Linked DNA regions of Homo sapiens: regions 1, 3 and 4 are each linked to region 2. The links are contacts of gene promoters, found by promoter capture Hi-C in human tissues and cell types (Jung and others, 2019). All regions are on one chromosome and are shown on one strand. The core of a region is centred on a gene start or on the middle of the fragment in contact, and the rest is flanking DNA. Distances in the headings are between cores, read along the strand shown.

The links. The method cuts DNA at HindIII sites, captures the fragments that hold promoters and counts their contacts. A contact is called where the count stands out against the background at its distance.
Region 1: a fragment that was not itself captured here is called in contact with the fragment with the promoter of FOXB1 in region 2 in 1 of the 25 tissues and cell types used here (liver).
Region 3: a contact is called between a fragment that was not itself captured here and the fragment with the promoter of FOXB1 in region 2, in 1 of the 25 tissues and cell types used here (lymphoblastoid cells).
Region 4: a fragment that was not itself captured here is called in contact with the fragment with the promoter of FOXB1 in region 2 in 3 of the 25 tissues and cell types used here (heart left ventricle, mesendoderm cells and spleen).

What each region holds. Positions count from the first base shown.
Region 1 is chr15:60,342,849-60,349,447 of GRCh38, reverse strand. ANXA2 (annexin A2) reads left to right here. Exons shown (of 13, transcript NM_004039.3): 12 at 251-373; 13 at 1,759-2,297. The coding sequence ends at 1,818. Among named protein-coding and RNA genes, the nearest start is that of ANXA2, 52 kb to the left of the region's middle. The HindIII fragment of the contact is 5,853 bases long and covers 1-4,967 here.
Region 2 is chr15:60,002,293-60,008,779 of GRCh38, reverse strand. FOXB1 (forkhead box B1) reads right to left here and starts at 4,469. Exons shown (of 2, transcript NM_012182.3): 1 at 4,137-4,469; 2 at 1,336-3,873. The coding sequence starts at 3,816. The coding sequence ends at 2,839. RefSeq lists a silencer at 1,876-2,170 and enhancers at 2,177-2,296, 2,377-2,456, 4,273-4,788. The HindIII fragment of the contact is 14,342 bases long and covers 1-6,487 here.
Region 3 is chr15:60,297,929-60,304,560 of GRCh38, reverse strand. No RefSeq gene overlaps it. Among named protein-coding and RNA genes, the nearest start is that of ANXA2, 97 kb to the left of the region's middle. The HindIII fragment of the contact is 3,629 bases long and covers 386-4,014 here.
Region 4 is chr15:60,267,717-60,274,707 of GRCh38, reverse strand. No RefSeq gene overlaps it. Among named protein-coding and RNA genes, the nearest start is that of ANXA2, 130 kb to the left of the region's middle. The HindIII fragment of the contact is 3,771 bases long and covers 1-3,491 here.

The sequences.
Region 1 (6,599 bases), core at 792-3,291, 340 kb before region 2:
ATATAGACCTTACACACATAGCCTAAAGGTAATTTTATACAACGCTTTTGATAATTTTGTGCATGAAACAGTTTGTGTTAAGTGCTGTATGTGGAATTTTTCATTGTGGCATCATGTCGGCACTGAAAAAGTTTTGGATTTTGGAGCATTTTAGATTTCAGATTTTCAGATCAGGGATGCTCAACCTGTAGACGCTTTCTTTAACGATAACATTCTCAGCGAATGTAACAAATATCAACTTGATTTTCAGGGCAAGGGGACGCGAGATAAGGTCCTGATCAGAATCATGGTCTCCCGCAGTGAAGTGGACATGTTGAAAATTAGGTCTGAATTCAAGAGAAAGTACGGCAAGTCCCTGTACTATTATATCCAGGTAAGCCCGAGGTGCAGTGTCAGCCTGCCCTGCCGTCCAGAGCACCCCGGGCCCTGGCAGGTGGCCTGGCAGAATGATGACAGAGTGGCGATTTTCTGTTTTCTGACTCTCTGGGGAAGAGATGCTAGTCATCAACTATCAGGGATTTATTTTGAAAGCACCATTTGTGATTTGTCCTGGACTTTGTACAATCAGGCAGATGTTTTATATTTTTCACATCTGTTACTCTACAATGATCATCGGTGTTCATGACGATGATCCTGCAAGGCTTGCTGACATCCCGAAGAGGCTTGGAAGATCAGTTACATTTTACTTTTTTTTTTTTTTTTGAGACGGAGTCTTGCTCTCTCGCCCAGGCTGGAGTGCAGTGGCCACAATCTCGGCTCACTGCAACCTCCGACTTCTGGGTTCACACCATTTTCCTGCCTCAGCCTCCCAAGTAGCTAGGACTACAGGCGCCCGCCACCACACCCGGCTAATTTTTTTGTATTTTTAGTAGAGACAGGGTTTCACCGTGTTAGCCAGGATGGTCTCGATCTCCTGACCTCGTGATCCGCCCGCCTCGGCCTCCCAAAGTGCTGGGATGACAGGCGTGAGCCACTGCGCCCGGCCACATTTTACTTTTATTATGCATTGGTTCCTTGAAAAATCCTCTGGGATAGGCCTAACAACTTTCAGTTATTCAGAACTCCCATCTCTCCAATCAGTTTAGCATCTGTCTGTTTTGATGTGATGTCGCATTTGCAGTAAGGAAGTGATGGCATTCACAGTGGTACCACTGTGTAGATTTCAGACAGCCCTTGCAATTCCCCTTTCTAGAAGTTCCTCAGATGTCCAAAGGCATGCCCATGGTTAGCAAGGATAAAGTTAGAGCTGGATTTTTTGTAGCCAGGTTTATTAGGGCACATGTTTAAAGTCAAAGGACCAGTTAGACTCTTAGTAATTGTTCCTCACCTCACCAGCTTATTTCCACTTGACCTTAATAATGCAGGAAATAGGAGAGTGAGCTAGGAAAGTACCCTGTTTTCTGTGGAAAGACGAGGACGAGAGAGGAAAGTTAGGGTGTTTGTAGGACCTTGCTGCAGTAAGAACAGCCCTGGTCACTAACCTATGTCAATCCTCAGCACCTTGCACTCCCTCCACCCCACAGTCCTAAGGAGCCTTGAGTGTCTTCCCCAGCACCTCCTCCGACCACACTCCTGGAGGCTTCCCTGGCAATGGTTTGGGTGTGGCCTTCCAGGCCTTTGTATCAGGGCAGGTCTCCTGCAGAGTCTTCTCTTTGTCATGGGAGAAGCTTCATTGTGCGTTGAGGCTACTTCTGTGTTATTGAGGAGTCTGGGCTTTTTTCTGATACCACGTTTCTTTTCTTTCCTGGGCCATTGTAGCAAGACACTAAGGGCGACTACCAGAAAGCGCTGCTGTACCTGTGTGGTGGAGATGACTGAAGCCCGACACGGCCTGAGCGTCCAGAAATGGTGCTCACCATGCTTCCAGCTAACAGGTCTAGAAAACCAGCTTGCGAATAACAGTCCCCGTGGCCATCCCTGTGAGGGTGACGTTAGCATTACCCCCAACCTCATTTTAGTTGCCTAAGCATTGCCTGGCCTTCCTGTCTAGTCTCTCCTGTAAGCCAAAGAAATGAACATTCCAAGGAGTTGGAAGTGAAGTCTATGATGTGAAACACTTTGCCTCCTGTGTACTGTGTCATAAACAGATGAATAAACTGAATTTGTACTTTAGAAACACGTACTTTGTGGCCCTGCTTTCAACTGAATTGTTTGAAAATTAAACGTGCTTGGGGTTCAGCTGGTGAGGCTGTCCCTGTAGGAAGAAAGCTCTGGGACTGAGCTGTACAGTATGGTTGCCCCTATCCAAGTGTCGCTATTTAAGTTAAATTTAAATGAAATAAAATAAAATAAAATCAGTTCCTGAGTCACACAATCCACATTTCGAATGCTCAGCTTTCACATGTGGTCAGCAGCTAGTATATCTGGACAGCGCAGGCAGGGAACATTTCGATAGAAAGTTCTGTTGGGCAGCAGTACATGCCCAGGGCATGAGAGGACCTATGGGGGAGAAAAAGGGTCCCAGAGGGACCCCTTATCTGCTTATCTTTCTACAGGTTAATTAGGTGAAAATAAGCATCAGGGGCAGCCACAAACTGGAGAGAGCAGTGGGGCAGGGTGGGGCAGGCTACAGCATTCTGGCAAAGGAGATCCAACACAAGCCGATGGGAAGCACGGAGAAGGGATTTCTTTTGACTGGGAGGATTGAGAAAGATGATAGAGAAAAGGAACAATTTGAGCTGCACACTAAAATCTAAGGTGAGGTTTTACAGCTGGGAGAAAGCACTCCATGCAGGTTCTTAAGGGTCTGGGAATGAATGACAGGTCGCTGATACAATGGTACACATGTCAAAAAGTTCAGAGACTTCTTTCTGTACAGGGAAAGTTATGTCTCTCCCTTACTAGCCAGTGGCCTTCCCTGGAGTCGCCTGGTTTCCAGTACATTTTCATGGATAGACTGCATACGCATGTATATATATGTATCTATCTGTGTTCATAAATGTGAAGGTGCTGTCCCCAGGCTGCTGGTACTGGGTTCTGCAGATTCCTTTTTATACAAGTGCTCCCCATAAGCAGGGTAGAGGGCTGGGAGTGAGGGGAAGTTGACTACTCCTCCTAACCCTTCTCCTTAGTGGAGGGTGTGTCAACTACTCATTTTTGGCACCTGGCTGATGCAGGGCCCACTCAGTCATCTGCAGGGACTAGGTAGGTAATGGAAATGAATGTATGAAATGGGCAGGTTGGACAGAAGTGGGGAATCTGGGGAAAATGGGGAATGCCTGCCTTGCTTGAGGCATTCAAATTCAATTCAAACAACAGTCGTAACAACATGGCATTGACCAAACCAAATACATCCGTGAGCTGATTGGCTGCTATTTTGGCCCTTTGGCAAACTTTAGATGGAAATTTGGATCGAGCATGGCTCTTGGGTCACTAGTGGCCCATAACGTATGTGAAAGGCCCCTGAGATAGTCCTTAAAAAGCAGGTTATGCAAAAATCAGGTATTTTATCAAATGTGTCCTGCCTATACATATTAAAATGGATGCCCCAAATCACAGAATATACTGTTCTGTGTGCTTGGGCAGAGTTCAAGGAACTGCCTAAGAAGCAGGACCTTTCTCATTAACCCCAAATTATACTGAACTCAGAATTGATAGGGCTGGGCAGAGACTGTCAGGAGCAGTGTTTCAGATCAGTGAACATTTAGGCATTGTTACCTCTCAATCATACGTGTGTTTCAGGCTGCAAAGGGAGCAGTGGTGTGGAGCAGACAAGGCCATGGGGTGAATATGGGGAAACTTACGCTCCCACTGTGCCCAGGACAGTCTGGCCACTGGTGTGGCCAACAGGTATGTGGGAAAGTTGAAAGGGCAGGCCAACATAGGAAAGGCGCTTGGAGAACTGTTTCAAACACTGTCTACTGTTTTTCCTCTATACAAAGCAATGGCAGTCCAGTGTTTTCCAAAACTCACAGCCAGGGCACTTGAATTTTGGTCCCATTTTCTTCTGGATTTCAGCCTGTCCTCTTCAGTCAAGCTGTCCAAACTGTTTCATGAATAAAGAGAACCATCTGGAGGTTTGACTTATTCTCCCCAGAAATTTTACTTTGCAAAGAGAAGGAAAAGGGTACCTGGCAGGCTGTGAGTTGGTAACAAGAACTTTGATTTTATTCTTTGAGGAATAAAAGGTAATTGATGCAATGTAGCTATGAAAACTTATTGTACTGTAACACTGTGATCAAGAACATGATTTTTTTCTCCCTGCCTTGGTGGGGCTGGGCAGAGCCATCATGTTGCACAACCCCAGAGAACACTCATCCTGTTGTAGTCTATGTGAATGATACCTCCCTTGGTGTTGTGCAGTGCACAACCTGTGCAGCCATACATGACAGCCCTGTATTGTGACCTAGGTGTGTGTGAGATGGTCTTTTCCGCCTTTTGCTACAGAGTTGCCCTTCCAGTTAAAAAAGTTAGAAGGCAAATCTTATTGAGAAACAAATGGGTGAACCCCGAAAGGTCTTGACTTCTCCATGGACTTGATCTTCAGACCAGTTTTACTGGGCTATGCACAAATGGCTGTATATATGAATCTTCCCCAGTATGTGAAGTTCCCATGGTATAAACTATTAGTAAATATAGCTACAGCAGGGAAAACCAGGCTCACAAAATGGCTACATTTAGCAAGACAAATGATTTGAGGACAGAAATCTTTTAAATCAATTTTTAGTTTTTAAATGACTCCCGTCTCCAGTCCTCTCCCTGTGTTTTGACAAACGGCTTTGGCTTCTTATCCACATCGGTTTATTTGACCTCCTTTTTCCATCAACTACCAAAATGAAAACTCTGCTGCAAGAGCGAGGAGAGAGAGTGCGAGCAATTTTAAACATCCCTTAGCAGTGAGGCAGAACATGCTACAGCCATCAAGTTCTAGTTGTTCATTCTATTTATTGAGAAAAGCTTGTAGCCCGATTTCTTTTACGCGAGTACATTTGAGCAAGCAAAGTTTATAGAGATGACTTACCTCATTACATTAGAAGAGTGATTTGCTATCTCAGCATCTATAAGCAATTTTAACAGACATTTCTGGATGAAGAAAAGCTTTTGTAAATATATGCGAAAGACACAATTTCATCAAGCATTAAATTGGAGGTGCCCTGGAAAAATATTACATTTGTGCACTCAATTAGCTTGATTGTGGCTGAATTTTGTCCACTGAAGGCAGCATTTCTGCAGAAAAACAGAAGCATTCCCTATGTCAGCAGGTTTCCTGAAACAAAAACACTTTCCCCTGAAACAAAAACACTTTGCCAGTCCTCTTTTGCATTTGTGCTGTTCCCAGCTCTGTGTCCCTAATCAGGCCTCTCGGTCTTGTTCCTCGCAGTAGAATGTTAGAGGAGAGGGAACCAGATAGAAATCCCTGACAGAAATCCAAACTCAACAATTCCAGCTTTAAATAGCCTGCATTCGGTGCAAAAGCTAGGCAAGCTCTGGGCAAAATTGGGAGGGAGTCAAAGGTAGACTTAAGTCTTCCTGGTCTCCTTACAGGGTCTGTAGGACAGCTGTGCCTCCTGCTGCTCCCAGGACTCTGGTGGCCTCCTTACTGCTCTGGGAAGGGCATCTCCCAGCTACTCCTTGGTATGGCTGTTAGCCCATGTCCTTTTCCCTGGGATGAGTCTGCAGGACCCACCCTATCTTCTATCTTGGAATGGAAGTTTTGTCCTCCTAGTACAGGCATGAGAAGAGTTAGGAAATGAATGGTTGGGGTACAAGAGGACTTTCTTGTGCCCCTAAAATCAGTGAAGGAAATGAGCTAAATATTTAGGGATGATCGTGGCCCTCCTCCAACACACCCCTGACCCCCTTGCTGACCTGTAGTTGAACCACCAGGTCTCTACTAATAAGAAACAAACCAGAAAAAACATGTAATGCCACTGGAACCTGGCTGTGAGGGTGGCTGATGTTTTTAAACAGTTGGTGAGGACAAATTGGAACTTTCTCAGCTGTAATCCATTACAGCCTGATACAGCTTGGCTCTGTGTCCTCAGCCAGATCTCATCTCCAATTGTAATCGCCACGTGTGGAGGGAAGGAGGTGATTGGATCACAGGGGTGGGTTTCCCCCATGCTCTTCCTGTGACTGAGTTCTCATGAGATCTGATGGTTTTACAACTGTCTGGCATTTCCCCTGCTTGCACGTCTCTCTCCTACTGCCATGTGAAGAGGGTCCATGCTTCCCCTTCACCTTCTGCCGTGATTGTAGCTTCCTGAGGCCTACCCAGCCATGTAGAACAGTGAGTCAATTAAATCTCTTTTCTTTATAAATTACCCAGTCTCGGGTAGTATCTTTATAGCAATGTGAGAATGAACTAATGTATAGCCCAAGGCAATTATGCTTTCAAGTAAATGTCTAAAGATTAATTAATCCAAGAAATAACAAGGAGTTTGGATTAGGAACAGAGAAATGTTTGAAACAAGCCTTTGTTACTCCGAGATCGCCAGATTTCAAATTTTACCATGGAGTCTTGGGTTTTGGAGAACCATCTTGGTCTCAATGAATTGCCTTTGTCTGAATAGACATGAGCTGATATATGACTATGAAGATTTGTTAAAGTCTATAGTTCTGCAGGTAATATTGGTCCTCAGTCATCCATGTATTCATTC
Region 2 (6,487 bases), core at 3,220-5,719:
ACCAAATTCGATGAGATTAGCATATTCCAGAGATGGCCTTAATTTTCTTTTGCAGGAAACTGTGAAAACATATTTAATTTTTTTTAAAAAAATGTATATGATTTCTTGTTGAGAACAAAGTTTTAAGAGTTTCCTAGCCCAGGGCGGTTAAGTTTTCCAGGCTTTCTTTAGCTGATCTTGTTGATATAATTGTGAATTGGGCTTGATGAATGAGTTTAGTTGTCCCCTGTCTGACGAGCTTTAGTAGCTTCATGCATTTTAATCAGTCCAATGATTCATTTATTTTCCACTTTTTTTTTTTTTGGCTGTGTGTGGGATCCTTCTTTTTAAAAAATGGTCAGAACAGGATTAATTACCCTTTGCATTAATCCTAAGTTGTTTTTCAGGTAGTCCTCTAAATATATAATGGTTGCAGGTGCTAAGGATCCTCCTATGAAGTACAGTGATTGTGGTTTCTATGTGGCTCCCTCTGTGTTGCACAAGGGTCTCTTGTTTAATCATTTTACACAGTAAAGTGTTAATCACCATTTAAGTTACTCTTTGCCTTGTAACTTCATTAGGTGAATACACATCTCATTCTGGAAATATTGTGACCCTTTCAATAAAGTGTCAGTTAGCCTTGCGCCATAAATTCTCGGCAAATTTTAATTCTCTGCAAAAATATGAAGAAAAGCAAGTACTTAAAGTCAGGCATTTGAAGTAACTTCATTCATATCTTTAAAATAAGTGCATCAAGCATTATCTTCTCAGAGGAAGGAGTGAAAGAAATCTGTTCAGTTCAAAGTGAACAGGTATCTGGACATGAAGGTGAACCTCTAGGTAATTTCTATTTAAAAAATTTTAACAACCGCAATAATTTAAAGGAGCAAGGAACTGAATACTCACACTAAATAAGATGCATCAGAATATAAGCATTGAGTAAGCAAGTCTGTTTTTACTTTTTAAGTCTCCATATTTTCTACCTGATTTCTACATAAGCCTTATATTTATAAGTGCTATATTTCATAAAATGTATATTTCAATAAAGACAAAAATACATATAAAATACTTATTGTTTCAAAAACAGGTTTTCTTTCACCACTGCACCTGTGCACCTGATCTTTAATAGAAATAGTCTGTTTCCTTTTTCCCTATACACAAATACCTTCAAAATTCTATCTGAATAATTTCTCCCACAATCTCCAAGTGCATAAGAGGAGGTTTGACTGTTTTCACAATATGATATGAAAAAGGCAAATTACTCAGTGTATTGCAGAAAGCATGTTTAGGGAAGCATTACATCCATCTTTTGCAAAATTATTTGTAGCAACTCTTCAAAAACACACAAAACTAAAATTTGAATTTACATATTTTAATGAGAAAATATTATTTGGACTAGGTCATAATTTAATGTAGACACCCTTTTTTTTTAAATCCTTTGTTTTAAAACAGGCATGCTGGGAACAAGAACATCAATATTTAAAATGCCACGCTAATTCTGTACAGGGAGGGAAAATGAAAGGTAAAAATTTTACAGCTCTGATGACACTACAACTTTTTTTTTTTTTAACTTAAGCAGGTCACACCAGAACAACAGTTCGTTTTCCAGCCAATTATCTAAGATTCTAAAGGAATACAGCAAACAAAAGTGCATTTTACACAGTGTATAATCATTCCTATTCACAAGTATTTACATCTCTTTGCAGCCCTTTAGCTTCTTGGAAAAGTTCTGGTAGCAAACAGAAAGACTTGTCCGTGGGAGAGCTATCCGGTGACATCCCTTCATGTTACCAGTCAGCTTATCTAAGTTCTTCCCGGGTTGCCCTTGATGCTTTCTTGGTTTGGGCTTATTTCATTTTCTTTCCTTCTTTTTTTTTTTTTTTTTTCCCAACAATAAAATAAATAGCTAAAAAGGTCTCTAAGTCATCGGAAAGTTAACATCCCAATTAACTTTCCCATCCCCACTTCCCTCCCTTTCTAAACCTGGCCAGAAATGAAGAGTAAACATTCACATTACAACAGGTACTTATAATGTGGGCTTTGCCCGTTCGTCCGCCTAGCAAGACAGATTCAAGTTCACTGTTTACATATTACTGGGCGCTTTGTAAACAATACAAGGTTACTTTTAGTTTTGTTTTGCTGTGTGAGGACGAGCGTCGCTTTCTCAGCTTGGCAGCCTCTTTCCTAACTCCCAGCGCCTGGAGCCTCTGGAAGGAAACAAAACCCCAAACAACAACAAAATCTCCGCAGAAGCCTAGGAGGCAGGGCCGCAACCCCGGGAAGCTGTGGTCGGCCCAGCCCCTGCCGGATGGGCGGAGGCGAGTGGGGTAGGAAGATTAGTGGCTCCTTTTTGCTGCAGATTTCCAAGACGTAAAGAGATCCGGCCCTCCCCTGCGCTGTTGCAGCCCTCGCGGGGAGGGGGTGTGGGGGGGATCTGTTCCTGGAAACATCTGAGGCAGTTTCTCTAGTCTTGAAACTGCGCAGAGTTCGGGGCTCCGCCGATCTGGGCGGAGGGAAGACGCGCTTTTCTCGGCGAAGAGGGGGTGACAGGGTTTCCCCCGCCGGTCAAATAGGAGGGGGTTTCGGGGCCTCAGGGAGGGGATGGTTCGGCTCAGGTGGCCCCGGCCTTCCTTGATGTGGGGGCGAGGACAACTCCCACGCGCCTCTCGGCCCATCTGCAAGTTTGTGTTTGGTCTCCTGGGTCCAAAACAAAGTTCTCTTGGGGCAAGGCGGGTTGGCCGAAGGTGAAATGAACAAGTTAGGGTGGCGGTCCCAGGTGGGGGCCGGCAGGACTGGGAGCCAGGGAAGGCGAGTGAGGTGGTGGGGAGGAGAACGAGAGGGGGCGTGGGCTCCTGCGGGTCAGTGCACCGCCACCGAGTGCAAGGCGGAGGCCGGGCTGGTGAGCGTTTCGCTGGGGGTGGCGGGGCTGCTTTGGCTGGTGGCTGTTTGCGAGGACGTGGGGCTGAGCGAGGGCGGCGAGTTCGAGAGCAAGGTGGGGATGGGCGCTGGCAGCGCAGGCAGCGCGGGCACGGCGGCCGGCGTGGGCTTAATGGGCACGGGGATGGCGGGCAGCGTTTGGCCCGCCGCGTGGCACAGCGGCTTCAACGGCACGCCGTAGGCGCTGTAGTCGCCACTCGCCATGGAGATGGGGGTGGCCGAGTCGATCATGCCGGCGGAGCCATACACGTGTGGCCAGCCGGTGCCCAGCGAGCTGCCCATGGTAGTCAACTGGTTGGGGAGCGGGTAGGCAGCGGGCACCGGCTGCATGGCGGAGAAGGCCAGCCCCCCAGGCATCTTGTATTCCCGCGCGATGATGTTCTCGATGGCGAAGGGGTGCTTGAAGCCCGAGGGCTGCGCCACGCCGCCCAAGTTGTAGGCGGCGGCGGGCATCTGTGGCAGGTGCGTGCCCGAGGCCGCCAGCGCGCTGAGCCGCAGCTTGGCCTGCTGCTGCAGGTACTGCGCCGCGTCGGCTGGCTTGCTGGGCGCCAGGTGGTCGGACTTAAGCACCTTGAAGCGCTTGCGGCGCCGCAGGAAGCTGCCGTTCTCGAACATGTCCCCGCAGCTTGGGTGCAGCGCCCAGAAGCTGCCCTTGCCTGGCTGGTCCGGCCGCCGCGGGATCTTGATGAAGCAGTCGTTGAAGGAGAGGTTGTGGCGCAGACTGTTCTGCCAGCGCTGCGTGTTCTCCCTGTAGTAGGGGAAGCGGTCCATGATGAACTTGTAGATCTCGCTCAGCGGCAGCATCTTCTCGGGAGAGCTCTGGATGGCCATAGCGGTCAGCGAGATGTACGAGTAGGGCGGCTTCTGGTCGCTGTACGTGTTGCGGCCGGGCCGAGGCATCTTCTTCCTCGCCCTCTTCTTGCTCTGGGTCCGCGCGGGCCGGCGGACTGCTCGGATCTGGGAAGGGGGTGGGTAATAGGGAAAGGTAGCATGGATGCACAGAGACACCGGCGGGGTCAGCCAGACCGAGTAACAGACTTCGGGGGTCGGGGGTGGGGCCTGCGGCGCTCGATCAGCCAGCGCCCGGACTCTTTCGCCAGCAACTTTGCGGGCTTAGTGGGCGCGGGAGGGGAAGCCGGCGAACGGCGCGAGGATAGCCGGGAAGTAAGTCGGTACTGGGGCCAGAATAGGGGGCAGGGACGGAACAGAGAGCTGCTCACCTTAAAGTTGCTTCAAGTTGCGCGTCCGCATCCGGGAGGACGCCGCTGCGCGCCGCTTCTCTCTCGGCGCGCACTCGACGCGCACTCCGCGCGCAGCGTCCGGGTCCGGTTGGACTCGGCGCGAACCTGGGCTCTTGAGCTCAGCCCCGCAGCGTCCCGTGCCGCCCGGTCCGCGACGCTCCTGGAGCGTCCTGCGGGCGGCCGAGCTCGGCTGCGGAGTCCCGGCGCGGATGGTGGCAGCGACGTGTTAGGGCTCCGGAGGGCGCTGCTGTGGGCTCCGCGTCTCCGCTGAGCTAGGTGGCTGCCTCCATGTCCTCCCTCGAACCATCTGATAGTTTTAAGCGGTGACAGGAGCAGAAAAGACCCCTGTAGCGGCGCTTCATTAATGTGCCACTTCTTAGCTATCATATGACAATCGCCTTGGGAGGAGGAGGAAGAGGAGGGGGAGCGGGGGCTGCAGAGGGAGGGGACTGAGCGAGAAGGGAGAGCCCGGCCAGCTCTGGTTTCTTTCACACCTATTTACATGGACACCTTGGCCAATAGGAATCACTTCCAGCTCAAGACTGGGCGAGGGGGAAGAGCCTCGGCCACTGGGCAGGCAGCTGGACGCGCCGGCCGGTGTGCGCCGTGTGAAGGTATGAGGAAGCGGCCGCCGCGGAAGAGGGAGCCAGGCGACCACTCACGTTCACAGATGGAGCAGCCGCGCGGATGATGTTTGACATGGAAATTGCTTGGCTGGGGTATTCTGTTTCCTCTGCGTTGTATCCGGTTTGTATCGTTAGGTAACTTTAGGCACGGCTTTCCCCTGAAGCCGACCCTTTTCCTGCGCTTAGCACTACCCGGGGTTGGTTGCATGGGTTATAATAATGAAAACACACCCTTGCCCCCCAGTCCCCGGAGAGTTAGGTCGAAATTTGACTTGACTTTCCTATGCAGCTGCTTCAGCTTTGTATAGTTAGTGTGTAGCTTTGAAAAAGTGATGGGGTTTACAAATACTTTCAAAATGTGATTGGACATCCCCATGTAAGAACCCATTTTGAATGTAACTGTATTGACCAAATTTTTAAAAATTAAAATAGTGTATCTGGGCGAAGAGTCCAGGTATTTGCTTTAAAAGTCCTCCGGGAATTTGGTTGGACACAGGATGGAGGCTCAGGAGCTGTTGGGGCAAATGTTGTGCGGACCTGGGGAGGGCCTGAGTTTGTTTGACACAGTTTATCACCAGGTAAGCCTCAGGGGCTCTCGCTTTTCCCAGGTGGTTTGAAACTTTAGGACTCAGGCACATCCTGGAAGTTTTCATTTTACACCCGGAACTCCCCTTCCCAGCCCTCCCACCCCCCCAACCTCCCACCCCCCATCCCCCAACTGCCGCTTTTTTTGGTATGGAGAACTTATTTAGGATTTAGAGTGTAGCAAAAGCCGCCTGCGATCCCACTAAGACAGCAGTATCTTCTACAACTTGGGGAAAGAACCATAGAGTTTTCCTTCTTGGGGAGCGGGGAATGTGCCTTGGGTCACTCCGCCTGGTGCGAGCAGCAGGCTCCCTTCGGTTCGGATTCGCCTTGGAAGGGTTAAATGAATCATTATTATTATTATCATTATCCTCATCGTCGTCGCTGCCGTCATCATCATCATCATCAAATTGCTATGAAATAAATAGTGAGTCGACCCCGCCTGCATGCACGCACTCTATAAGTACACACCAGGAGTTCCCACGGGTTTCTGCACATTCTCCGACCTTTAAGGTTTTTAAAAGACATTCATTTTACTGCGTTGTTAAAAACTCAATACTTACAGCCCACACAGAATCATCTTCAAAGTCCAGAAATGGGAGAACTTTTTTTTTCCCTAGACGTGGTGATCGTAGAGAATTCTGGGTGTTAAGTTTCAACACTTTAAGTGATATTAGAGCATTATTAGTGGAGCTGTTTGGGGTTAGCATAAAAAAGATCTTTCAGCGCGCGAATGCACACACACACAAACACACACACACACAACTTCATTAACTACAGTTTCGGAGGCGGTCAATAACTCACCAAAACGTAACTTAAACACGATGAATTTAGGAGATTAAACAATTTCATTAATATTGAAATGGCTCTGGCTCTGGGCTGCCTCGGTTGAGATGCAAGCGCACGTTTTTCAATATTAACAGAAGTGCTTGAAGAAAAGAATAATGTCACCTTCTTAATTCGGAAAAAATAACTGGGAGGAGGAGATGGGTGCGAGGGGCTGGGGGAGGGATGTTGACCTGTCTCTGGGGGTATGGCTCGAGAAGGGCAGATAAATGTATTGCCCTTCTCAGCAGATAAACCACTTGGACTCGGGTGGAACCTCTGCCAAGCTTTGGC
Region 3 (6,632 bases), core at 951-3,450, 300 kb before region 2:
AGCAAGAGTTCATAAAAAACAAAGCAAACCAGAAAAAAAGCAAAACAAGAAAACCAGATAAGTATGAACTCTAGAGAAAACAAAAACGGGAGAAATAAAAAATTATTCTGATATATTGCATTGCTAAGCCAAATATATCATTCATATAATCATAATGTAAACATTGAATAATGATAAAATCAAAATTACGATAAAAATGTTGGGGGAATAGAGGCATGGCATGTATGCCCATGTATGGTCTGTGTGTGTGTGTTGGGAAATAGGGGCAGCGAGAGAGCTAAATGCATATTTTCAGTAGGGAAAACCAATAGGTAATGCCTAAAAATAAAAACTCAAAAGAGAAATTTTTACTTGCTATTAGAAATATGAAGGTGTTGTATTATTATTATTTTTTTCTAATTTGGTCCTGAGGTCTCTCTCATGAGAGTGGCAATAAACTCTAGCCCTGCCCTGATGGGGCTCTAGGGATTTGGTCATGGATGATTACAATGTTCCTTTTAAGGGATACTTCTTTATCCTGGCAATGACCTAATGCCCAAGTGTCTGACCCATGACCAGGTGTCCCTCTCATAGAAAACTTCTTTACACTGGCAGACACCAGTGTAAACAACCTGGTGGCTTTTTGACTTATGTCCAGTTTATTCCTACAAGATAGCCATTCCCTAGAAGAGCCCTAACTGGGAAAGAAGCTCAGGTGTGTCAGTTACATGCGACACAGAAGAGGAAGCAGAACAACACACATGAAATAACAGGCAGTTCATTACTTACAGATCCCAGAAAGAAGATGGAAGCATGACTAGTGGGGCCAATGGGTAGTGGGAGAAGTGGGGAGGCATCCAGGACACTCAAGCTCAACTAGCAGATGGGGAGCAAAAGAGAAAGAGCAAGAGATCTGTGGGCCAAAGCTGGTACCGGGGTTCAAGGTATTACCCGGGCTGGTTTCTCTTGGGGAGTTCTAATTCGTGTGTTTAGAGCAACCAGCACAAATTCCCTGGGGTCACATTATGACTTAAAACTGGTCACTGTGGCATATTTTTGCAGTCATGTGGGGTGAGAGGGTCAGTGGAACAAGTCAAGTAGGTTGTATCTGGCTGTCCCATAGGGAGGTGGTCACCAGGAGGTGGTGGTATAAGGGAGATATTTGGATCAACCACATTGAGGAATTGGGAAGAGGTAGAGAACAGGAAACTTTGTCAAGGGTGTCTAAGCCCTGCCTCTGGTGTGAGAATGTCCAACTTATATTCAAAAGGATGCTGAAGTTGGGCATGGTGGCTCACACCTGTAATCCCAGCTACTTGGGAGGCTGAGGCACGAGAATCACTTGAACCTGGGAGGCAGAGGTTGCAGTGAGCCAAGATCATGCCATTGCACTCCAGCTGGGGTGACAGAGTGAGACTCCATATCAAAAATCAAAAATAAAAATAAGAAAAACAAAAAAACAAAAAAAATAGAACGCAAAATGTATGCTGAGGCAACATAAAATTGTAAGAATTCACTACAAGAGGTAAATACCAAAATAAATAGCTAAAAGTCTTTACTGGAGTGGAGGGAAGGTTGCGGGAGAACAACTGTTTTCCATTATAAATAGCCCTTGTAGAACTATATGGCTTTTTAAACTGTTTGCATATATAATTTCAATTAAGGTAAAAACAAACACAACAATGAAAATACAATAGAAATGAGGTATCATTAATTGGGACAGCAAGCTTTCTCAACTTCTGAAAAGTTGTTTGGGGAAAGATTAAAAATATTTCAGGGCCAAGTGCGGTGGCTCATGCCTGTAATCCCAACACTTTGGGAGGCCAAGGTGGGCGGATCATGAGGTCAGGAGATCGTGACCATCCTGGCTAATACAGTGAAACCCCGTCTCTACTAAAAATACAAAAAAATTAGCCAGGCATGGTGGCGGGCGCTTGTAGTGCCAGCTACTCGGGAGGCTGAGGCAAGAGAATGGTGTGAACCTGGGAGGCGGCGGAGCTTGCAGTGAGCGGAGATAGTGCCAGTGCACTCCAGCCTGGGCGACAGAGCGAGACTCCGTCTCAAAAAAAAAAACAAAACATACTTTCGGAAGACAAATTCTCGCCTTCACTCTTCTGAGCTGGTAGAAGTAAACTAGTTTGTGAAAATTTTCGCAACCTACTCATCTGACAAAGGGCTAATATCCAGAATCTACAATGAACTCAAACAAATTTACAAGAAAAAAACAACCCCATCAAAAAGTGGACAAAGGACATGAACAGACACTTCTCAAAAGAAGACATTTATGCAGCCAAAAAACACATGAAAAAATGCTCACCATCACTGGGCATCAGAGAAATGCAAATCAAAACCACAATGAGATACCATCTCACACCAGTTAGAATGGCAATCATTAAAAAGTCAGGAAACAACAGGTGCTGGAGAGGATGTGGAGAAATTGGAACACTTTTACACTGTTGGTGGGACCGTAAACTAGTTCAACCATTGTGGAAGTCAGTGTGGCGATTCCTCAGGGATCCAGAGCTTGACATACCATTTGACCCAGCCATCCCATTACTGGGTATATACCCAAAGGACTATAAATCATGCTGCTATAAAGACACATGCACATGTATGTTTATTGCGGCACTATTCACAATAGCAAAGACTTGGAACCAACCCAGATGTCCAACAATGATAGACTGGATTAAGAAAATGTGGCACATATACACCATGGAATACTATGCAGCCATAAAAAATGATGAGTTCATGTCCTTTGTAGGGACATGGATGAAATTGGAAATCATCATTCTCAGTAAACTATCGCAAGGAGAAAAATCCAAACATCGCATGTTCTCACTCATAGGTGGGAATTGAACAATGAGAACACATGGACACAGGAAGGGGAACATCATACTCTGGGGACTGTTGTGGGGTGGGAGGAGGGGGGAGGGATAGCATTAGGAGATATACCTAATGCTAAATGACGAGTTAATGGGTGCAGCACACCAGCATGGCACATGTATACATATGTAACTAATCTGCACATCGTGCACATGTACCCTAAAACTTAAAGTATAATAATAATAATAATAAAAAAGAAGTAAACTAGTTTGTTGCTGCGAATATCTGAAATAATAAAAATTCCTATGGCCTTGCATAGCTTTTTTTTCCCCCAAAAGTAATGTGGAGAATATATGTTTAGTTTACCTAGGCCCCTTTCTTGCCTTCTCCTGGTAACAGCACATCTTATTTTTGGAAATGGCTTTATTTAGATTTCAACCAATACTGATGGATGCTTCATGGTTCTTTTTCCTGGGCCACAGAGATGGACACATGACTGAGTCTGAGCCAATCATCATTTAGGCTCCCCTGGTCACATGACTAGCCCAGGAATGGGCACATGACTCACATAAGGCCAATTAGGTCCCTTCTTTTTCCAACTGAAACTGCTGGAGAAGAGCAGGGTTTTTGTTTTGTTTCGTTTTGTTTTGTTTTGAACTCTTGTCCATGTGGCTAGAGAGATAAAAGCCTAGACCACCTGTAGCCATATTTCCATTGTGTGAGGTCAATTGTTCAGAGAAGTTGAAGCAAATATTTAGATAGATACAAAGAAGAGAAAGAGGATTGCAGGGAGAATGGCCTCAGCTCACCCTGAGTCTCGCTTCATGTCTGCCCTTTTCATAGTTTGAATTCAGAAACCAACAAATCCATCCCCCCCTTTTCTGACAAAGCTGGAGTTGGAGTTTTGTCACTTGCAATCAAAGGGTTCAGACCAATCCTAGTAGCGATCATGTTTTGTATTAGGCAAGAAAAAGTTTTCCACATTCGAGAAGATGGCATACAGACATAATTATATCTATGGGGTACATGTGTTATTTGATACATAAATACAATGTCTAATGATCAAATCTTAAGTTTTTTTAAACAATAGGGATTACAGTATTGAAATATCTCTCAGATGAGACTGAAAAGTAACCTGATGGTTTGATGCTGGATATGGAGCTACACTGTGTCAACCCCAGAAGTAAGAATGGTCAGTTTTTGCTGTTTGTGCTCAGCTAACTTTGATTCAATTCAAAATGCCAAGTTATGCATTTTAGAGTCAATAAAAAATTATACTTAAAGAGTTAAAAACCACGTTTAGGGTTTAGTGATGATCTTCTGGACACTGTGTTAGATTGGCACTTGAAGAAATTCAGAATAAGTATAATGTATAGTTTATGCCCTCCTGTAGCTTAAGATCAGTTAGGGAGAGATGATATAAACTTGTGAAACATTTCATTATATAGCATAAGATCTGTAGGCACTCACCCAAAGAAGTGAGCTATTCTTTGGGTGCAACTTCTGGCCGGTTTAGTCTAGAACTTTCTTGTAAGTCTCCTCTGTGTAGACCATCATTCCCCCCAACCCCTCTTTTTCTTTCTTCTTTGCCTGGGCTCAAACCCAGGCATGGGGCCAACGACCTCAGCAATGAATGGGATTAGAGCAGCTAGCCAGCTTTTTCAGGTTAGACTGTAAATGAACACCCTTGGTACAGACATGAGGCCAAGGAACTCTAGTGCTTTGTTAGGAAGAAAGTGAAAAGCTCAGCTCTCCCGTGGGCCAGAAATGCTGAGCCTGCAGGATCCTCAGCGAAATGTAAGAAACTGGTTCGCAATGGCTTGACTCCTCCACGATGGCCCTGCTCTCATCAGATGCTTTTCCTGTTCCTACAGGCAGGCGTCGCCCAGAGGAGGAGGGGATGGCAAGGTGCCAGCCGTAAATAATGAATAGCACCCTCATTTACATTCTTTTTTAGTGGCGCCTGTTTGCACGCAGCATTGCAGGAACCTAGAGCCCGAGGAAATATGACTTGGAGCCGGCTCAGGCTGCCTCCCTCCAGTGTGCCTAGCTCAGGAAAAGGCAGAGCTCTTCCCGTCAGACCATCTGGCGCTCGTGAATGTGCTTATTAGTAACAGGGAAGGTGGGTCTGTTAGCCTGGGACAGCATATCGGAGGCAGATGCTGAGTTTATGTGTAAAATATGGCTTCCAGCCAAAGCACTAATCATGATCGCCTCTGAAGTGGTTCCAATCGTCTGGATGAGGCGGCTCCTGCTCTTATGTTGTTTGTACAAGCTGGTAGTTACAGGTGTTGTATACAAGATATTTGTAGTCATAATTTCTCCAAACAGGTTAAGGCAAACATTATGAGAATCAGCGTATTAATGTGCTGTGTTTCAAATTAGAATTATAAACACACTTTCCTCATTGGAGGCCTAATCTGCTAAGAAGAAGCCAGATGTTTAATGATGAAACCATTATTCAGAAGGACCTATCAAAGTAAAACAAATTGTTGTTGTTTAAGCGGAGAAAAAAACCTGCTTTATGCAAGGGAACTTAGAAAAACTGCTTTGAGAGGATCGGTGCTTGTACTGAATTTCCATGTACCCTTTGCTGCTGCTCAAGAGCCAGGGTTTCTTCTGGAAACATCATTTAGCAGATGGGAATCCGGCCTTCCTAGGACAAATCTACAGGCCAGGCCAGCTCATTTCCTTGTGCACAAATGGTACCTGACATGCTGACATGCTGGAGTAGTCGAATGGGAACAAGTTGGTCTAGGAGGCTTTTTGATGTTAACTTTTTTTTTTTTTGTGAGACAGGGTCTTGGTCTATCACTCAGGCTAGAGTGCACTGGCACTGTCTCAGCTCACTGCAACCTCTGCCTCCCGGGTTCAAGTGATCCTCCCACCTCAGCCTCCCAAGTAGCTGGGATTATAGGCATGCCCCATCACACCTGGCTAATTTTTTCTACTTTTTCGTGGAGACGAGGTTTCGCCATGTTGCCCAGGCTGGTCTCCCTGGATTCAAGTGATCCTCCCACCTTGACCTCCCAAAGTGCTGAGACTACAAGGTGTGAGCCACTGCGCATGGCCTGATGTTAACTTTTGATGTTAATTTCCCTTACTCTCTTTGTATTTTTTCGAGGAAAGAATTAGGAAGCAGTGTTTGGTGATGGTTGACATTTGCCCTTCGCTTGCCGTCTGAGCTGCTTCATGTAGAACTGACTCCCACATTCCAGCTGCTCAACTGTAATCATTCCATTAGCCCCTTATTGTGTTTAAGGAAGTGCAACCCCATGCTTGTTGTATCTGTCTGTGATTGTATCTTTCTTCTCTTTTCTCCCTCCTTCCCCTCCATATTCCACTTAGTTCCTCATCCTCTCCTGCCTTCCCATTCCCTATTTCCTTCTCCTTTCCTTCTTCCTCCTTTCCTATAGAAAATACATCTTTGAGAATATATCCAATTGCTACCTTGAACCAAAGAGCACACAAAAAGCAGGAAGAAGCACAAAGATAGGCATCGGAGGTGGTTTATGAAAGCTTGATGTGATCACAGATCTTGCCATAAATATTCAAAATATTTGACTACTATTTTTAAGAGTTTCAGTTTATTCATTTTCCCAAAGCTCTTCTTGCTGCTGGTAGGATTTTTTGGACTAAGCCCTTTTGGAGTACATGAGGCTGTTTACTAGCAAATTAATGGAGGCCTTTTTGACATACACAAATTTTAGTAGTTACAATGATGAGAGAAATAGCAGCTTGAAGAAGTTAGAACCCATGGGGATCTGGAGGCTTCCCTTTTGCTGAGTTCTAGAATTTGTGAGGTATCAAGTTTTGAGAGAATCCAGAGA
Region 4 (6,991 bases), core at 357-2,856, 270 kb before region 2:
CAAGGGTTGAGGATGGAGTCTCGCTCTGTCGCCCAGGCTGGAGTGTGGTGGTGTGAACGTGGCTCACTGTAACCTCCACCTCCTGGGCTCAAGCGATTCTCCTGCCTTAGCTTCCCAAGTAGCTGGGATTACAGATGCCTGCCACCATGCCTGGCTAATTTTTTATTTTTAGTAGAGACGGGGTTTCACCATGTTGGCCAGGCTGGTCTCAAACTCCAACTTCAAGTGATCTGCCCGCCTCGGCCTCCCAAAGTGCTGGGAATATAGGTGTGAGCCACCGTGCCTGGCCTGGACTGAGCCTTAGGTCTGAATTTTAATATTCTTTTTATGGTTCTATTTTACTAATACCATGATTAGTCAAAATAGAGTTCTATGAGTGTTTAAGGATTCCAGCTTTGGAGTTAGAACAGGGGTTGTAATCCTGTCTTTGCCATTAATTATTGGCCATGTGATTATTGGCAAGGTGCATCCTAAAGCCAATTCTTCCCCACCAAAATGGGAAAATTTTTTTTCAGTGTGAGAATTATATGAAATAATAAACATGTAATGGGAATGGTGTTTTTAAAATGTTAAATCAGTATTGTTGCCAAGATCATAATTGTCTTGTGATTTCCCTTCCATCGAATTAATGGCATTTACTTCTTCACAGGGGAGCATGCAGTATCTAGGAACATCTTTGATTTTTGTGATGGTTAGTATTGAGTGTCAACTTGATTGGAATGAAGGATGCAAAGTATTGTTCCTGGGTGTGTCTGTGAGGGTGTTGCCAAACAAGATTAACAGTTGAGTCCGTGGACTGGGCGATGCAGACCCACTCTCAATCTGGGTGGGTACCATCTAATCAGCTGCCAGCACAGCACAGCTAGAATAAAGCAGGCGGAAGAAAATGGAAAGAGCAGACTCGTTGAGTCTTCTGGCCTTCATTTTTCTGCCATGCTGGATGCTCCGTGACCTTGAACATCAGACTCCAAATTCTTCAGCTTTTGGACTCTTGGACTTACACCAGTGGTTTGCCAGGGGCTCTCAGGCCTTTGGCACTCCCAGCCCCTAAGGAAGCCCAGGGAATCCATTTCTGACTTTATCTCACTGGGACCCTTGGGGAGGGTTGTCAGTGGAACTGGGGAAAGACCACAGAGAGAAGGAAACTTCCAGCTGAAATTTGTAATAATTTTGACCATGTGTGAATTTTCCAGGGCAGAATCTGGAAGTTGGGGGCTGAATGGGAAGTGCAGATACAAGCGCAGAAGCAGTGGTGGGGAAGGGCGAAGCCTGAAAGCCGTGCTTGCTTTCTCAATGAGGAGGCTTGAAGCCTGGGTCAAGATCTCAGGCCTGCTCACCAGCTGCCTGGATATAAACTCAGTGCTGTTGGAGAACACAGTGGGAGTGAGACTGGCCTTTCTGTCTGTGTGGGCTTTGATTGAGGCCTGTCGCTGCTGGCTTTCCATCACTTCCCTGGCAACCTGTGTGATGCAGCAGAGGCAGCCACAATCCCCATAGGAGCATAACTCCATTGGCCTGAGAACCACATCCCCATCCCCCACAGTGGCCACTGCAAGCCCTGCCCAAGGAAAGCCTGAGCTCAGATCCCCATAACCCTATCCCCACCTGACGATCTTTCTCTATTGCCTTGGTAGCTGAAGAAAAAAGACATAATCTCTTGAAAGCTCTATGACCCTGCCCACTGCCTGGGAATACATATCTGGGTGACTCTAGAGCAAGCTTGTATCCTCCCTATACTACCACAGCTGATGCTCTCTTGAAAGTGCCACCTCCTAGCTGGAGGCCAACTAACACAAACCATTACAGCAACCCATGAAAGAACAACCCTGTCCCAAGAAAGGAGAAAGCAGCAGCTAACTCCACCACCTGCAACATCCTGGCTACCACCAGAGGTCCTAATTCTGTCTACGTGACACCTTTACTACCAACACAACCAGCATCCAAGAAAACTAGCACGCTAAACAAAACTTCAACCAAAGACCCTCACAGAGTCCACTTCATTACTCTGCTACCTCCACTGGAGCAGGTGCTGGTATCCATGACTGAGAGACTTGAAGATGGATCACATCACTGGGCTCCTTGCAGATACTCCCCAGTACCATCCCAGAGCCTGGTAGCTCCACTGGGAGGCTAGACCCAGAAGAGAAATAATAATCACTGCAGTCCGGCTCTCAGGAAGCCCCATCCCTAGGGGAAGGGAGAGAGCACCACATCAACGGAGCACCCTGTGGGAGAAAAGAATCTGAACAGCAGCCTTGAGCCCCGGCTCTTTCCTCTGACATAGTCTACCCAAATGAGAGAAACCAGAAAAACAATTCTGATAATATGATAAAACAAGGTTCATTAACATCCCCAGAAGATCAGACTAGTTCACCAGCAATGGATACAACCAAAGAAGAAATCTCTGAATTGCCAGAAAAAGAATTCAGAAGGTCGATTATTAAGCTACTCAAGGAGGCACCAGAGAAATGTGAATATCAACTTAAAGAAATTTAAAAATGGTACAGGATATGGATGGAAAAATCTCCAGAGAAATAGAGAGCATAAATAAAAAACAGTCACAACTTTTGGAGATGAAGGACACTATTGGGGAAATGCAAGATACACTGGCAAATTCCAACAATAGAATCAAACAAGCAGAAGAAAGAACTTCAGAGCTCTAAGACAAGGCTTTCAAATTAACCTATCTGACAGACAAAGAAAAAAGAATTAAAAAATGAAGGCCAGGGCTGGGCGTGGTGGCTCACGCCTGTAATCCCACCACTTTGGGAGGCTGAAGCAGGTGGACCACAATGTCAGGAGTTCGAGACCAGCCTGACCAACATGGTGAAACCCCGTCTCTACTAAAAATACAAAAATTAGCCAGGCATGGTGGCACGTGCTTGTAATCTCAGCTACCCAGGAGGCTGAGGCAGGAGAATCACCTGGACCCGGGAGGGGGAGGTTGCAGTGAGCAGAGACTGCGCCATCGCACTCCAGCCTGGGTGACAGAGCCAGACTCTGTCGCAAAAAAAAAAAAAAAAAAAAAAAAAAAAAAATGAAGGCCGGGCACAGTGGCTCACACTTGTAATCCCAGCACTTTGGGAGGCTGAGGTGGGCGGATCACCTGAAGTCAGGAGTTCAAGACCAGCCTGACCAACATGGAGAAACCCCCTCTCTACTGAAAATACAAAATTAGCTGGGAGTGGCAGTGCATGCCTGTAATCCCAGCTACTTGGGAGGCTGAGGCAGGAGAATCACTTGAACCCAGGAGACGGAGGTTGTGGTGAGCTGAGATCACACCATTGCACTCCAGCCCGGGCAACAAGAGTGATACTCCGTCTCAAAAAAAAAAAAAAAAAAAGAACAAAACCTCTAAGAAATTTGGGATAATATTAAATGACCAAACATAAGAATAATTAGTGTTCCTGAGAAAGAAGGGAAATCTAAAAGTTCGGAAAACTTATTTGAAGGAGTAATTGAGGAAAACTTCCCTGGCCTCTCTAGAGATGTAGACATCCAAATCCAAGAAGCTCAAAGAATACCCGGGACATACCTCGGAAAAAGATCTTTGCTTAGGCACATAGTCATTAGGTTATCTAAAGTAAAGACAAAAGAAAGAATCTTAAGAGTTGTGAGGCAGTATCAAGTAACCTATAAAGGAAAACCTATCAGATTAACAGCAGATTTCTCAGAAGAAATCCTACACACTAGAAAGAATTGAGGTCATATCTTTAGCCTCCTTAAACAAAACAATGATCAGCCAAGAATTTTGTATCCAGCAAAACTGAGCTTTATAAATGAGGGAGAGATATAGTCTTTTTCAGACAAACAAATGCTAAGAGAATTTGCCACTACTAAGCCAGCGCTACCAGAACTGCTGAAAGGAGCAGGAATCATGAAACAAAACCTCGAAATACACCAAAACAGAACCTCCTTAAAGCATAAGTCTCACAGGACCTATAAAACAATAACACAGTGGGGGGGAAAAAAAAACACACCAAGGTATTCAGGCAACAACTAGCATGATGAATAGAATAGTACCTCACATCTCAAAATTAATGCATAATGTTAATGGCCTAAGTGCTCCACTTAGAAGGTACAGAATGGCAGATTGGATAAGAATTCACCAACCAATAAGTGCTGTGTTCAAGAGACTCACCCAACACATAAGGACTCATATAAACTTATGGTAAAGGGGTAGAAAAAACATCCCATGCAAACGAACACCAAAAGCGAGTAGGAATAGCTATTCTTATATCAGACAAAACAGACTTTAAAGCAACAACAGTTAAAAAAGACAAAGAGGGACATTATGTAATGATGAAAGGACTAGTCCAACGGGAAAATATCACAATCTTAAATATATATGCACTTAATACTGGAGGTCCCAAATTTATAAAACAATTGTTACTAGACCTAAGAAATGAGATAGATGGAAGCATAATAATAGTGAGGGACTTCAGTACTCCACTGATAGCACTAGGTCATCAAAACAGAATGTCAACGAAGAAAAAATGGATTTAAACTATATCCTAGAGCAAATGGACTTAACAGATATTTACAGAACATTCTACCCAACAACTGTACAATATACATTCTATTAATCAGCACATGAAACATTCTCCAAGATAGACCATATGATAGGCCACAAAACAAGTCTCAATAAATTTAAGAAAATCAAAATTATATCAAATACTCTGTCAGACCACAGTGGAATAAAATTGGAAATCAACTCCAAAAGGAACCCTCAAAACCATGAAAATTCATGGAAATTAAATAATCTGCTCCTGAGTTATTATTGGGTCGACAATGAAATCAAGATGGAAATTTTAAAAAGTTTTGAACCGAACTATGATAGTGACACAACCTATCAAAACCTCTTGGATTCAGCAAAAGTGGTGCTAAGAGGAAAGTTCATAGCATTAAATGCCTACATCAAAAAGTCTCAGAGAGCACAAATAGACAATCTAAGGTCACACGTCGAGGAACTAGAGAAATGAGAACAAACCAAACCCAAACGCAGCAGAAGAAAAAAAAATAACAAAGATCAGAACAGAATTAAATGAAATTGAAACAAAAAAAGTTACGAAAGATAAATGAAAATAAAAGCTGGTTCTTTGAAAAGATAAAATTGATAGACTGTTAGCGAGATTAATCAAGAAAAGAAGAGAGGAGATCCAAATAAGCTCAATTAGAAACGAAGTGAGAGCTATTACAACTGATACCACAGGAACATGAAAGATTATTCAAGACTACTATGAACAATTTTATGTGCACAAGCTTGAAAACCTAGAGGAGATGGATAAACTCCTGGAAATATTCAACCATCCTAAATTAAAGCAGGAAGAAATAGAAATCCTGAACAAATAACAAGCAGCGAGATTGAAATGGTAATTTAAAAATTGTCTCCAAAAAAGTCCAGGACCAGATGGATTCACAGCTGAATTCTATCAGACATTCAAAGAAGAATTGGTACCAATCCTGTTGACACTATTCCAAAAGATAGAGAAAGAGGGAATCCTTCCTAAATCACTCCATGAAGCCAGTATCACCCTAATACCAAAACTAGGAAAGAGCATAACAAAAAAGGAAAACTATAGACCAATATCCCTGATGATCATGGATACAAAAATCCTTAACAAAATTCTAGCTAAATGAATCCAACAGCATATCCAAAAGGTAATCCACCATGCTCAAGTGGGTTTCATACCAGGGATGCAGAGACGGTTTAACATTTGCAAGTCAATAAATGTGATACACCACATAAACAGAACTAAAAGCAAACATCACATGATCATCTCAATAGATGCAGAAAATGCGTTTGACAAAATCCAGCATCCCTGTATGATTAAAACCCTCAGCAAAATTGGTATAGAAGAAAAACCTTTTAAGGTAATAAAAGCCATATATGACAAACTCACAGCCAACATTATACTGAATGGGGAAAAGTTGAAAGAATTCCCCCTGAGAACTGGAATAAGACAAGGAGGCCCACTTTTACCACTTCTATTCAATATAGTACAGGAAGTCCTAGCCAGAGCAATCAGACAAGAGATAGAAATAAAGAGTATCCAAATCAGTAAAGAGGAAGTCAAACTTTTGCTATTCACTGATTGATTGTTTACCTAGAAAACCCTAAAGATTCATCCAAAAAGCTACCACAAATTGAATATGTTTGTTTCTAAGTGAGTGACATGTTACCTCGAAAAACAGAAACTCAAACACTCAAATTTCATATTTTGCTCAGTTATGTGAACTTAACAACGTTTACATGTTTAAAAAATAAGAGTAGTTTGGTAATTAAATGTAATTTGATATTTATCAATGTCCAATATTCCTTTAACTTTAGTCTCATAAACATACTTTCCTCAATAAGTTTAGGATAATGTGTCTACCCAATTCTTTTAAATGTTTGTTTATATTTTTTCACAACTCTTTAACTACTTATAGACAAGAATCAGCTCTATTTAGCAAACGTCTGAAAGTTGGTGAATCAGTAATGGAAATAGCTTTGGTAAGTTTTGATCAGTGAAGTACATAAGCTATAGTCTGTACTGTCTTCCTCCTTTTGGTTAACTCCCTATTATGATTTTCTGGACCACCAAATATCAAAGCCACAAGTCTTAAGTTAAGACTTGTCCTAAGGCTGATCCCAAAGCAACAGTCCTTACGAGTCGAACTTTTTAGATCCTTAACTTTGGTGACAACCCAAAAGAAATTAGAATCAATTGTCCATGCCTTTGTTGAGTGCCTCATCTATGCTTGGAACTTAAGTGGATTTTGCAGCAATAAAGAAAAAACACAAATTTCTATGTAACGACCCTGTAATCTTGTCAGAGAGATAAAATTTGAACGGACAAAACAACAGTGAAATATCTAGGACAATATAAATGGCATTGTACTGTCTGTACGGACCTATAGAATTTGGGAAGGGAGAAAGGGATTTGTTTAAGGCTAAGGTACTCCATGAAGGTTTTGTGAAAGATTTTGACTTCATTTAAGCCTTAAA